3 separate regions of the Homo sapiens genome follow, and regions 2 and 3 are each linked to region 1. The links are contacts of gene promoters, found by promoter capture Hi-C in blood cells and fetal thymus (Javierre and others, 2016). All regions are on one chromosome and are shown on one strand. Each heading gives the region's core, a stretch centred on a gene start or on the middle of the fragment in contact. The rest is flanking DNA. Distances are from core to core; before and after follow the strand shown. Region 1 holds the start of NUP58 (nucleoporin 58). Region 2 holds the start of ZAR1L (zygote arrest 1 like). Region 3 holds the start of HSPH1 (heat shock protein family H (Hsp110) member 1).

What was found. Contacts are between HindIII fragments. The CHiCAGO score rates a contact against its expected background, and 5 or more counts as called.
Region 2: a contact is called between a fragment that was not itself captured here and the fragment with the promoter of NUP58 in region 1, in 1 of 17 cell types (total B cells). The highest score is 6.8, in total B cells.
Region 3: the fragment with the promoter of HSPH1 here is called in contact with the fragment with the promoter of NUP58 in region 1 in 1 of 17 cell types (total B cells); the score reaches 9.3 in total B cells.

Annotation. Positions count from the first base shown.
Region 1 is chr13:25,299,985-25,303,173 of GRCh38, reverse strand. It overlaps NUP58 (nucleoporin 58), which reads right to left and starts at 1,549. Exons shown (of 16, transcript NM_014089.4): 1 at 1,294-1,549. The coding sequence starts at 1,400. RefSeq lists enhancers at 1,254-1,303, 1,414-1,493, 1,654-1,893. The HindIII fragment of the contact is 2,784 bases long and covers 818-3,189 here.
Region 2 is chr13:32,312,720-32,315,908 of GRCh38, reverse strand. ZAR1L (zygote arrest 1 like) reads left to right here and starts at 546. Exons shown (of 6, transcript NM_001136571.2): 1 at 546-594; 2 at 1,359-1,579. BRCA2 (BRCA2 DNA repair associated) reads right to left here and starts at 401. Exons shown (of 27, transcript NM_000059.4): 1 at 242-401. RefSeq lists an enhancer at 1-11, a promoter at 120-616, a cis regulatory region at 945-1,011 and a silencer at 1,130-1,350. The HindIII fragment of the contact is 856 bases long and covers 823-1,678 here.
Region 3 is chr13:31,160,178-31,163,366 of GRCh38, reverse strand. HSPH1 (heat shock protein family H (Hsp110) member 1) reads left to right here and starts at 1,463. Exons shown (of 18, transcript NM_006644.4): 1 at 1,463-1,891. The coding sequence starts at 1,785. LOC105370148 (a long non-coding RNA gene) reads right to left here and starts at 707. Exons shown (of 3, transcript XR_941825.3): 1 at 1-707. RefSeq lists enhancers at 837-1,106, 1,337-1,456, 1,587-1,666, 1,278-1,823, 1,824-2,369. The HindIII fragment of the contact is 12,297 bases long and covers 1-2,410 here.

The DNA.
Region 1 (3,189 bases), core at 300-2,799:
ATTTTGTTTTTCAATTACTCTGGCTAAAATGTGGCAGAACAGATTGAAGAAGTTGATTGGAGTAGTTTTCATCTAAAACAAGAAAGACAGCTGGTTAAAAATCTGACAAGAATCAAAATTATTTTCATAAGAATGTAAGGATCAAGAGAGCAAGACTCTTAATACCTAAAACAGAGCCTTGCACATGGGAATCTGTCCAATAAATATTTGTTCCACGAATGACAATAGCCTAAGCAGGGTTGTGGAACTGGAAATAAAGACAAACAGAAATGGCAGAAGTAACATTATCAGAACCTGTTGTTGAGCGAGTAGAGTAAGAATAACGGAGGTATGGATGAAAATTCAAATTTCTGAATTGACTGTGTAGTCCGTGGTTCCTCCTCCCTCCCTTTTTAAACTGCAGGTCATGCTTAAGTATTTGCCTTTTAAATCTACAGCCACATCTTTTAAGCTTCAGGAAGTATCTTGTTGACAGTGTGCACACTCCTTAACTTTATGAACCCCTCCACCTTTATCTTAAAAAAAATTGAGTTCTAAAGCTTAAATCTCTCATTAAAATGTCTCACCACTTTGTTTCTTTCTGGATAGTTATGTTTTTGTCGCCACCTGAACTAATGGGTTGCACAAAAACAAGGAACATGCTACCTACGTTTTGTAATTTAAGTAAAAGACAAATTGAGTTATTACAACACAACATTCTCGCATCAGATATACTAATCTGCACATACTGCAGAAAATTACCACTAATAAACACTGTAAAAAAGTGTTTTTGTTTTTTTTAACAAAAACAGATAAGGTCCCATGTGGCACAAAAGCTTGAAAAGCTGGTTAAAAACCACAAAGTTATTAAAACACCGTCATATCCAAAACCGCAAATGCTGCAATGAAATCGGAATTATCTATCATAAAACTCCACAGTATGCTATAATTTCATTCATTCATTCAATGTTCATTCTATGCCTAAGACTGACACATCGCTAAAGCTCCGGGGTAGACCCCAAGGCCCTTCCACGCAGTCAAGACCCCACTAGGTCCAAATAATGCCTGAACTATACGTGGATTCTGGAAACCTCACAGCACAGAACCCATCCCGCCCTCCACTTCACCAGGCCGCGCTGGGCCCGGGTACCGCGGCGAGAGGCCTACGACGCCGGGCGGCTAGATTAAGTGCTTCTCTCCAGCCCCACTGGGAAGGAAGCCAGAGGGAAGAGACAGGATGGGGACACCAAGGGAGCTTTGCGGGGGTGGGGGTGGGGGTGAATCCGGCCCAGGAAGGCGAGAAAGTGCGGTTACCTAGACGCTCCCGTTCCGAAGGAGAAAACGCCGCCTGTGCTGGTCCCGCCGGCGGCCACGGTGGTGGAGCCCAGAGTCCCGGACCCGAAGGAGAACCCTGTGGACATGTCTGGCCAGGGCTCGACGCCGTCAGCAAGGCGAAATGGGTCTGGGACACTTCTCTCGCCTCAAAGCCGAGGCGGGCCGGGCAGCATCTCTCTCGCCCGGCACGGACCTGGCGGGAACTTCCAGCCCCAACGGCGGCGAAGGCAAGGCTGAGGGGGTGGAGCAACCACGCAAAAGTACGCCCGGCGCTCGCCGCGCGCACGTAGCCCGCCGGAAGTGTAACCGTCACGCAATGAGCCCTGGTACGTGAGTGGGGGACGGCGAGCCGCGCAAGGTACGCTGGGACCAGGCGAGAATAGGCGTACTGCCTAATCTCTTAAAGGAGTAGGCTCCCAGAGTTTAAAAACAGTAAAACCATTTCTGTCATTTTTTAGTTCTTCTATCGTAGCATCTGTACTGACATAATCCGCACTTTAGGGTGATGAATGTCAATTGCTACTTCTATCTAGCCTCCTGCCAAAATTGATGCTCAGAATCGCAGAATCGGGGAGGTCCCTCCTGAGCATCTCTAAGCTCCCCACTCAGAAAAGGAGGCGGCTTCGGGCTTTCGTTGGCTGCCGCCCCATCCCTAAGAAGGAAGGGGAGCGTGTCTGCTTCCTGAAGGTTCGGAAATCAATCGAAAATAATCCATGCAACCGTCCCACGACGTGAGCCCCACCCCTGCGCCCCAGGCCTCGCGGAGCCAGTTGGTCGCAGTTGTTGCGAGCCCGACGCCCAGCCCCGAAGGGGGCCCAGAAGAGCGTCCCAGGCGTCCGTGGGGTGGCCGGCTGTGGTCCTGGCGCCCAGAAGTGGCCAGGCCCGCTGGATTTCCTGGGATGCGGTCAAGTCCACAAATACTGTCCGTGCATCCTGATGCTGGAGGGCGGGACCTTGGGCCGAGCGAGTGTGGCTCCGCCAGAAGGGCCCTCGGACACAACCGGTGCTGGAGGAACTACAAAGTGGAAGGATTAGGAAACGCACAGGAACATGTACGAAAGAAGGCGAAATGTGAGGTGTAACTTACATTTCTAGGATAACTCAAGAAAAATTCGCGTTTAAAGAGAACCTCTCTGGCGAAGCATCAGGAAAGGCTTCCTGGTGGTGGTGCATTCGAGGGTTGTCATCATAGTGTTAGTTTTTATTTTTCCCTCAGGGATTGTTACATTACTCCCCCAAATGGTTTTCCTACTCGTGATCTCTAACAAAATCCATCCCATAAGCAACCCCCGGATTTATGATCTAAAAAGCCCAGTGGCTCTTTAGTTTGGCACTTGATGACCTCCGTATGATTAGTCTTTCTAACCTCATCTCACAGTTCTCCCTAATTCAGTACTTTAATCTTCCGTTGAGCTTGGGCATTGCCACCAGCTGTGGACTGAACTATTTCCCTCCTCCCCCAATCCATATGTTAAAGCCCTACCCCACCCCAATATGTTGGTATTTGGAGATGGAGCCTTTGGGAGGTAATTCAATTTAGATGAGGTCACCTTGGTGGGTCGCCCATGGCGAGATTAGTGCCCTTATGAGAAAAAACAACGAAGAGCTTGTTCTCCTCTGTGTGCCATGTGAGGACAGAGCAAGAAGGGGCTTTCACCTGGAACCCAAACTGCCCCATCTTTATCTGGGACTTAGCCTCCAGAATTGAGAGAAGTAAATGTCTGTTGTTATAGCCACCTCAGTCTATGGTATTTTGTTGTATCAGCCAAGCAGACTAATACACCACCTCTGTGTTTGTATAATTAAAAAGAAACGTACATTTTATTTTGTTTTTTAAATTTAATTTATATTTTACTTTATTTTGAGACAGAGTCT
Region 2 (3,189 bases), core at 1-2,500, 7.0 Mb before region 1:
GGAGCCCAAAGGCCGGGCCGGAGGCGGGAAATGGAGACCCAGGGAAGGGGCGGGGCTCGAATTTGCTTGGCGAAAATCTGCCTTCGGGCAAGGACCTTTCTCTCAGGCATGGGTGGGGGTTGGCAGAGACAAAAGGGCAAGAAGCCGCGGCAGCGACCCGGGGCGTGAGGCGCTCCCCCGCCACGCTGGACTGGGACTGCGGAAGACGCGCTCGTCCCAACCCACTACCACCACCACTAACCCGCTCCAGAGGTGCAGTTCTTTTTTGGCCGGAGTAAGCTGACAAAAACCGCGCCGGTCACAAATCTGTCCCCTCACGCTTCTCCCGGCGGCGACCCACCGCCGCAAAAGACACCCGAGGCGCAGCAGAGGCGCAGCAGTGCCACAGCGGCTCCGCCTCTGCCGCCTAGTTTCAGAAGCTCGCGCCACAAGCCCGCGCTGGCCACGTGACGCCGTGACGCGACACGCAGCACACGCACCACCCGGAAGTCAGGCCTGGGTGGGCCGCTGCGGGTATTTCTCAGTGTGGCGAAAGGAAATTCCTTGTCAGGCATCCCAACCGTCAGTATCTGACCGAATAAAGCGGGAGCTGGAGTGTGTGTTCTCTTCTCGCTGACCCTTAAGAGTCCCAGGCCACCCTGCTTGGAGGGGCCGCCCCTATGCCTACTCCAAGTCCCCCATCCCTTTCTTTTTGCTCCAGCTCATGTTTGGGTGGGCGCCCTCGGGACACGACCTGGGACCTATGAAATACCTTTGTTCTGACCTTAAAAGGGATGTTCTCTCAAGACCTGTTCCCCAAAGCGAGCCGATCTTACAAAAGCTTAGAGTGGTCGGTGTGTGGTTGTGGATGACTTCACTTAGTGGTAGTGGGCGGGGCTGTTATTTGAAATCAGAGGATTTTAGTTCCAGTAGCTGTTCTGCTATTGGGTAGCAGGTGTTCAAGACCTCCGAGCCCGTTTCCTTGCTTGAAAAATTGTGAAACCCATCTTAACTCGCTCATGAAGTGTGAGGTACCTTGCTCCGCAGGGCTTGGTAGTATCTTTTGCTTTTTTTTTTGAGACGGAGTTTCGCTCTTGTGGCCCGGGCTGGTGTGCAATGGCGCAATCTCCGCTCACCGCAACTTCCGCCTCCAGGGATCAAGTGGTTCTCCTGCCTCAGCCTCCCGAGTAGCTGGGAATACAGGCATGGGCCACCACGCACGGCTAACTTTGCATTTTTAAGTAGAGACGGGGTTTCTCCGTTGTTGGTCAGTCTGGTCTCAACCTCCCGACCTCAGGTGATCTGCCTGCCTCGGCCTCCCAAAGCGCTGGGATTACAGGCATGAGCCACCACACCCGGCCCATCTTTTGCATTCTTAGGATTCGGATCACCTGTCTTCCTCGCAGGCTGAACTGGAAGACCTGACTTCATCTCCGAATTCGTTGGTTCTGTAACATGCCTAATACAAGGCTGAATAGGGTTTGTTGTAAGACCTACAAAACCTTCAAATGGATTCAGTGAGAGTTGCTCCCATGGGGGCCTTGCTGCTTCCAGAAGGTGCTTGAGCAGTAAACAGAAGCAACCTTGGATTAGGAAAAGGGTGGGCTCCGCTTGGTTCCTTAGGGACCATTTTAGTTTGATAATCAGTAATCCTTAGTTGTAGAAGGAGGCCTTACTAATGCAGATAGATTCTAAAGCTTTTGCTCTAAGTCTAATTCGCAAAGAAATACGTCTGTGATCCTTACTAATAACAGCTGCCACTTACCAAACATTTTATGAGTTAGGCATTCTGCTTTGGGTTTTCAAGCAATACCATGTTTAATCTTACAGTAATCCTGTAAATTGGTCAGTATTGTCAGATGAGGATACTGAATCAAGTAGTTAAGTAATGTGCCTGGTAGTAAGGCCCAGGTTTGAATTCTAGTCCATTTGACTTCATACACTTAACTAACCTGTGATTTATTTACCCTATAAATCAGAACAATATGCTTTGTCCCCTTTTTGTGGGGGAGGGGTGTCTCACTAGGAGTGGACTAATGAGAACCCGTGGCATGTCACACAAGTCTCAGAAATAACATTTTCTGTCATTTTATACAGCCCCCCATACCTTTATGTTTCTTGTTCTCTTTGTACCAGGGACTTGCAACTTATTAGCTCCACCATAATAGACTTTCTCACCTATTCTCTTCTAGTGCAGCTGCTCAATTTACTATTTGTATTCAATTTACAATATGCTTTAATTTTTCTTAAAAACATTATTTCCAGCTGGGCATGGTGGCTCACGCCTGTAATCACAGCACTTTGGGAGGCCAAGGTGGGCAGATCACCTGAGGTCAGGAGTTCGAGACCAGCCTGGCCAACATGGCAAAACCCTGTCTCTACTAAAAATACAAAAATTAACTGGGTGTGGTGGCATGTGCCTGTAATCCCAGCTACTTGGGAGGCTGAGGTGGGAGAATCACTTGAACCCCAGAGGCGGAAGTTGCAGTGAGCCGAAATCATGCCACTGCACTCCTGCCTGGGAGACAGAGCAAGGAAACTCCATTTCAAACAAGCAAACAAACAAAAACCCAAAAAACCATTATTTCCTAAAAGTTGTATATATTTAATGTGCACAACATGTATATGTACACAGTGAGATGATTACTATAGTCAAGCAATTAACATATCCATCTGTTCACATAATTACCTTTCTTTTGTGTGCGGTGAGAGCACCTGAAATTTCTCTTTGAAACTTTTCAGTATAAAATACAGTATTGTTAACTGTAGTCGTTATGCTGTAAATTAGATCTCTAGACTCATTCATTCTACCTAACTGTAACATTTTAGGCTCTGACCAGTCTCTCTCCATTCCCCCCAACTTCCTGTCCCTGGTAACCACCATTCTACTTTCTGCTTCTATGTATTTGACTTTTTCAGATTCCACATATCAGTGAGTTTATGCAGTATTTTTCTATCTGGCTTATTTCACTTAGCATAATGTTCCCCAGTTTCACCCATGTTGTTGCAAATGGCAGGATCTCCTGTTTTTTGTTTGTTTGTTTGTTTGAGACGGAGTCTTTCTCTCTCTGTTGCCCAGACTGGAGTGCAGTAGTGTGATCTCAGCTCACTGCAACCTTTGCCTCCCGGGTTCAGGTGATTCTCCAGCCTCAGCCTCCCGAGTAGCTGGGATTACAGGAGCGTGCCACCATACCCGGCTGATTTTTGTAT
Region 3 (3,189 bases), core at 214-2,713, 5.9 Mb before region 1:
CTAACTATATGTCCAAATGTAAGAACACAACAACCCCGTGATAACTATTATTGCTCCCATTTTAAAGGTGAGTTAACTGAAGCATGTTAAGTAAGCCACCTAAGTGGCAGGAAAACTAGCAAAAGCACATACAATTTACATGTAATGTAAACCTGGGCCTTTCGTCTTGCCTCTGACTTAACCAACTTGTTTTGATAGACAAGGAGGAATTCCCATACTCTTTATGAGTTAGATTTTTCTAACTTTAGGTTACAACTCCTTATTCAATTACACGCTTATCCAATAACATATTTGAACTGTGCTTATACTTCCACATGCCTGACATAAGGTAAACTCAGGGATCAGAAGCAAACTTAAAAAGACACAAAAGGGTATAAAAGACCTGATAAGTTATCAGCAACACAGTTCCACCTTTTCTTACACTGTCTCTTTACTGAACAAAAGTTAACGGGGACATCGCTTCTGAGGGAAAGAAACAAAAGCTGCTTCAGATCAAACAAAAAGCAAAACTTACACACAGTACCAATTTATGGCTAGGAGTGGCAGGGTAGAACAGCGTCGGCTTAAATCAGACCTTTTAAAAATAAGCAGAAAGTGATACCGTGGACAGCCTGCCAAATGACGTCACAACTAAAAATCGATTTCTTAAAAAAAAAAACACCTGACATTTTACTCCACAAGAGATCATCCTGCTGCCTGATGAATACAAGAACACTTAACACAACCCCTTTGCTTTTATTATAAGCGGTTTGAACTGGTGTTCCTTCTCCTAAGTCGTAACGCACCAGTTGTCGGGGTAATCCAGACAATAATAGAAGTGAATACAAAACAAACGAACAAAATGACGCTTATTGCCAGGGAACCCGCGCAAAAGCGCCAGACAAAACCCTACCCAGCCTCTCTCGCGAGTCCCAGAAGACAAAGCCGGGTCCCAGCAAGCACTGCGGCCAGGACTACACATCCCAGCATGCAAGGCGCACACTTCTCCCAGCGGGACTACGATTCCCAACATGCTCTCCGGACAGCTGGCCGGCCTCCCCACCATCCCGGTGTCTGGGGTCTCTGCAAAAATGGGGTCTGTCTCCGCCCGCCCAGCCTCCCTTTAGCGTTAAGGATCGGACACCACCTCCCGGTAGTAAATTGTGACTATTCCGAGTTTTGGAGTCATTCTTCGTTGCCTGTTTTATTAGGGCAGCAAAACGCCTGTGGCTAGGGCGGGAGTGGGCGGAGGCAGGTTTGAGCCAATGGCACGGGAGCGGCCCTGTCGCTGCCATGGCAACGGCGGCCGTTCTCCGGGGACCGGCTGCCCATTGGGTAGAATCTTTCCAGAAGGCTCGAGAAGAAGGAAGCGGAAGTGGCACGTGGAGGGGCCGGTGGAGGCGCCGGTGAGTAAATGCCGCAGATTCTGGAAAGTTCTGATCAGTGCGATACATAAGGCTGAGGAAGTGGGACCTCCCCTTTTGGGTCGGTAGTTCAGCGCCGGCGCCGGTGTGCGAGCCGCGGCAGAGTGAGGCAGGCAACCCGAGGTGCGGAGCGACCTGCGGAGGCTGAGCCCCGCTTTCTCCCAGGGTTTCTTATCAGCCAGCCGCCGCTGTCCCCGGGGGAGTAGGAGGCTCCTGACAGGCCGCGGCTGTCTGTGTGTCCTTCTGAGTGTCAGAGGAACGGCCAGACCCCGCGGGCCGGAGCAGAACGCGGCCAGGGCAGAAAGCGGCGGCAGGAGAAGCAGGCAGGGGGCCGGAGGACGCAGACCGAGACCCGAGGCGGAGGCGGACCGCGAGCCGGCCATGTCGGTGGTGGGGTTGGACGTGGGCTCGCAGAGCTGCTACATCGCGGTAGCCCGGGCCGGGGGCATCGAGACCATCGCCAATGAGTTCAGCGACCGGTGCACCCCGTAAGTGGGAGTCTGCGAGGGTGGATGGGAGGAGGTTCTGGGCCCTTAGTGTGGGGACCCAAGATCGCGGGCTGGCTGTACGGATCACCGCGGCAAACGGAGGCGTTTGGGCAGCGGCGCACCCCTCCGTGGAACTAGGGACCAGCGACCCGGCCAGAGGAGGGATGGGGGGCTTGCCATCACAAATTGGAGAAGGGATTGTCTCAGGGATTCACGGGGGTGAGAGGAGTCCCAGAGTCGAGACTCTAAGGGTCGTCACCTTGTGCGGGCTTCCTATTGGGGGTTTTCAAAACCTACTGGGGGTCGGGCTGCGGCAAAGCCCGCAACTTCGCTCCCTTTTCTTGGCAGGCTGCAGCCTGCGCCTTCCGCGGCCGCCCCCGTATCCCCACCCGGCCTCTCTGAGCTGGCTGAGCCGCCTCCAGCTTGTCCTCCTCCCTTCGCGCATATCTTTGCGCACCGCGGAGCGGGGCTGCCGGCCTTTTTCTTCCGCATTGTGAATCTCGAAATGAACTGGAAGCTTCCAGAGCTTGTGTCGCTGCTTGTCCAGTGAGCAGGCGGATTGTTGTTAGCGACCACGGAAGCAGTCCTATGAAAGATTAGCCCACCTCTTTTTACCCAGTCTCTTCGTTGCTAACATTGTTGGCCTTAATGCCCGGGATCATTGTCGAAAGATGTAAACGTCTTTTTTTTTGCTCTTTGCCATTCATGAGGAATTGTAAACCGTATTTTTAAAATTAATTTTGCACAGTTTATTTAAAAGAGAATAAAAATTGCATACTTTTGTGCTAGGACGCCAAAAGAGGATGGATGTCGTCACTGAACTAAATATTCTATAGGAGCATAGGGTGGGCAAAGGGCAACATTTTAAAAAGCAAGTTTCGTGAAGGGATATTTTCGGACGAGAATATATACAAACATATCTGCATGTGCATTGATGAAAACAAATGATTTCATCTCAAGGAAAATACTGTACCTATTAATTTTTTTCAAATGTCCCAAGCTCAGGATGAAAAGTGCAAAATGAAAACATTGAACCTAAAGGTAGAATGAATGACTGGGGTAATACAATTATTTGGGTGCTGAGAACGTTTATGAAAGTTGAGTGGAAAATCTGAGGCAAAATATTTGGCAATGTTAGTAACGTTAGGAAGACTGTTCTGAGCAACCTGTACGTCTACCCCTGCAGATCTAAGTTTGTGTTTTGGTTAAGGTTTTTTTAATTGGAGTTTAGTAAGAAAGAAAACAGTATTTCAGGCTTTCATGCCTAGATACAGTTTATACTTTGTTCTGGTTGATCC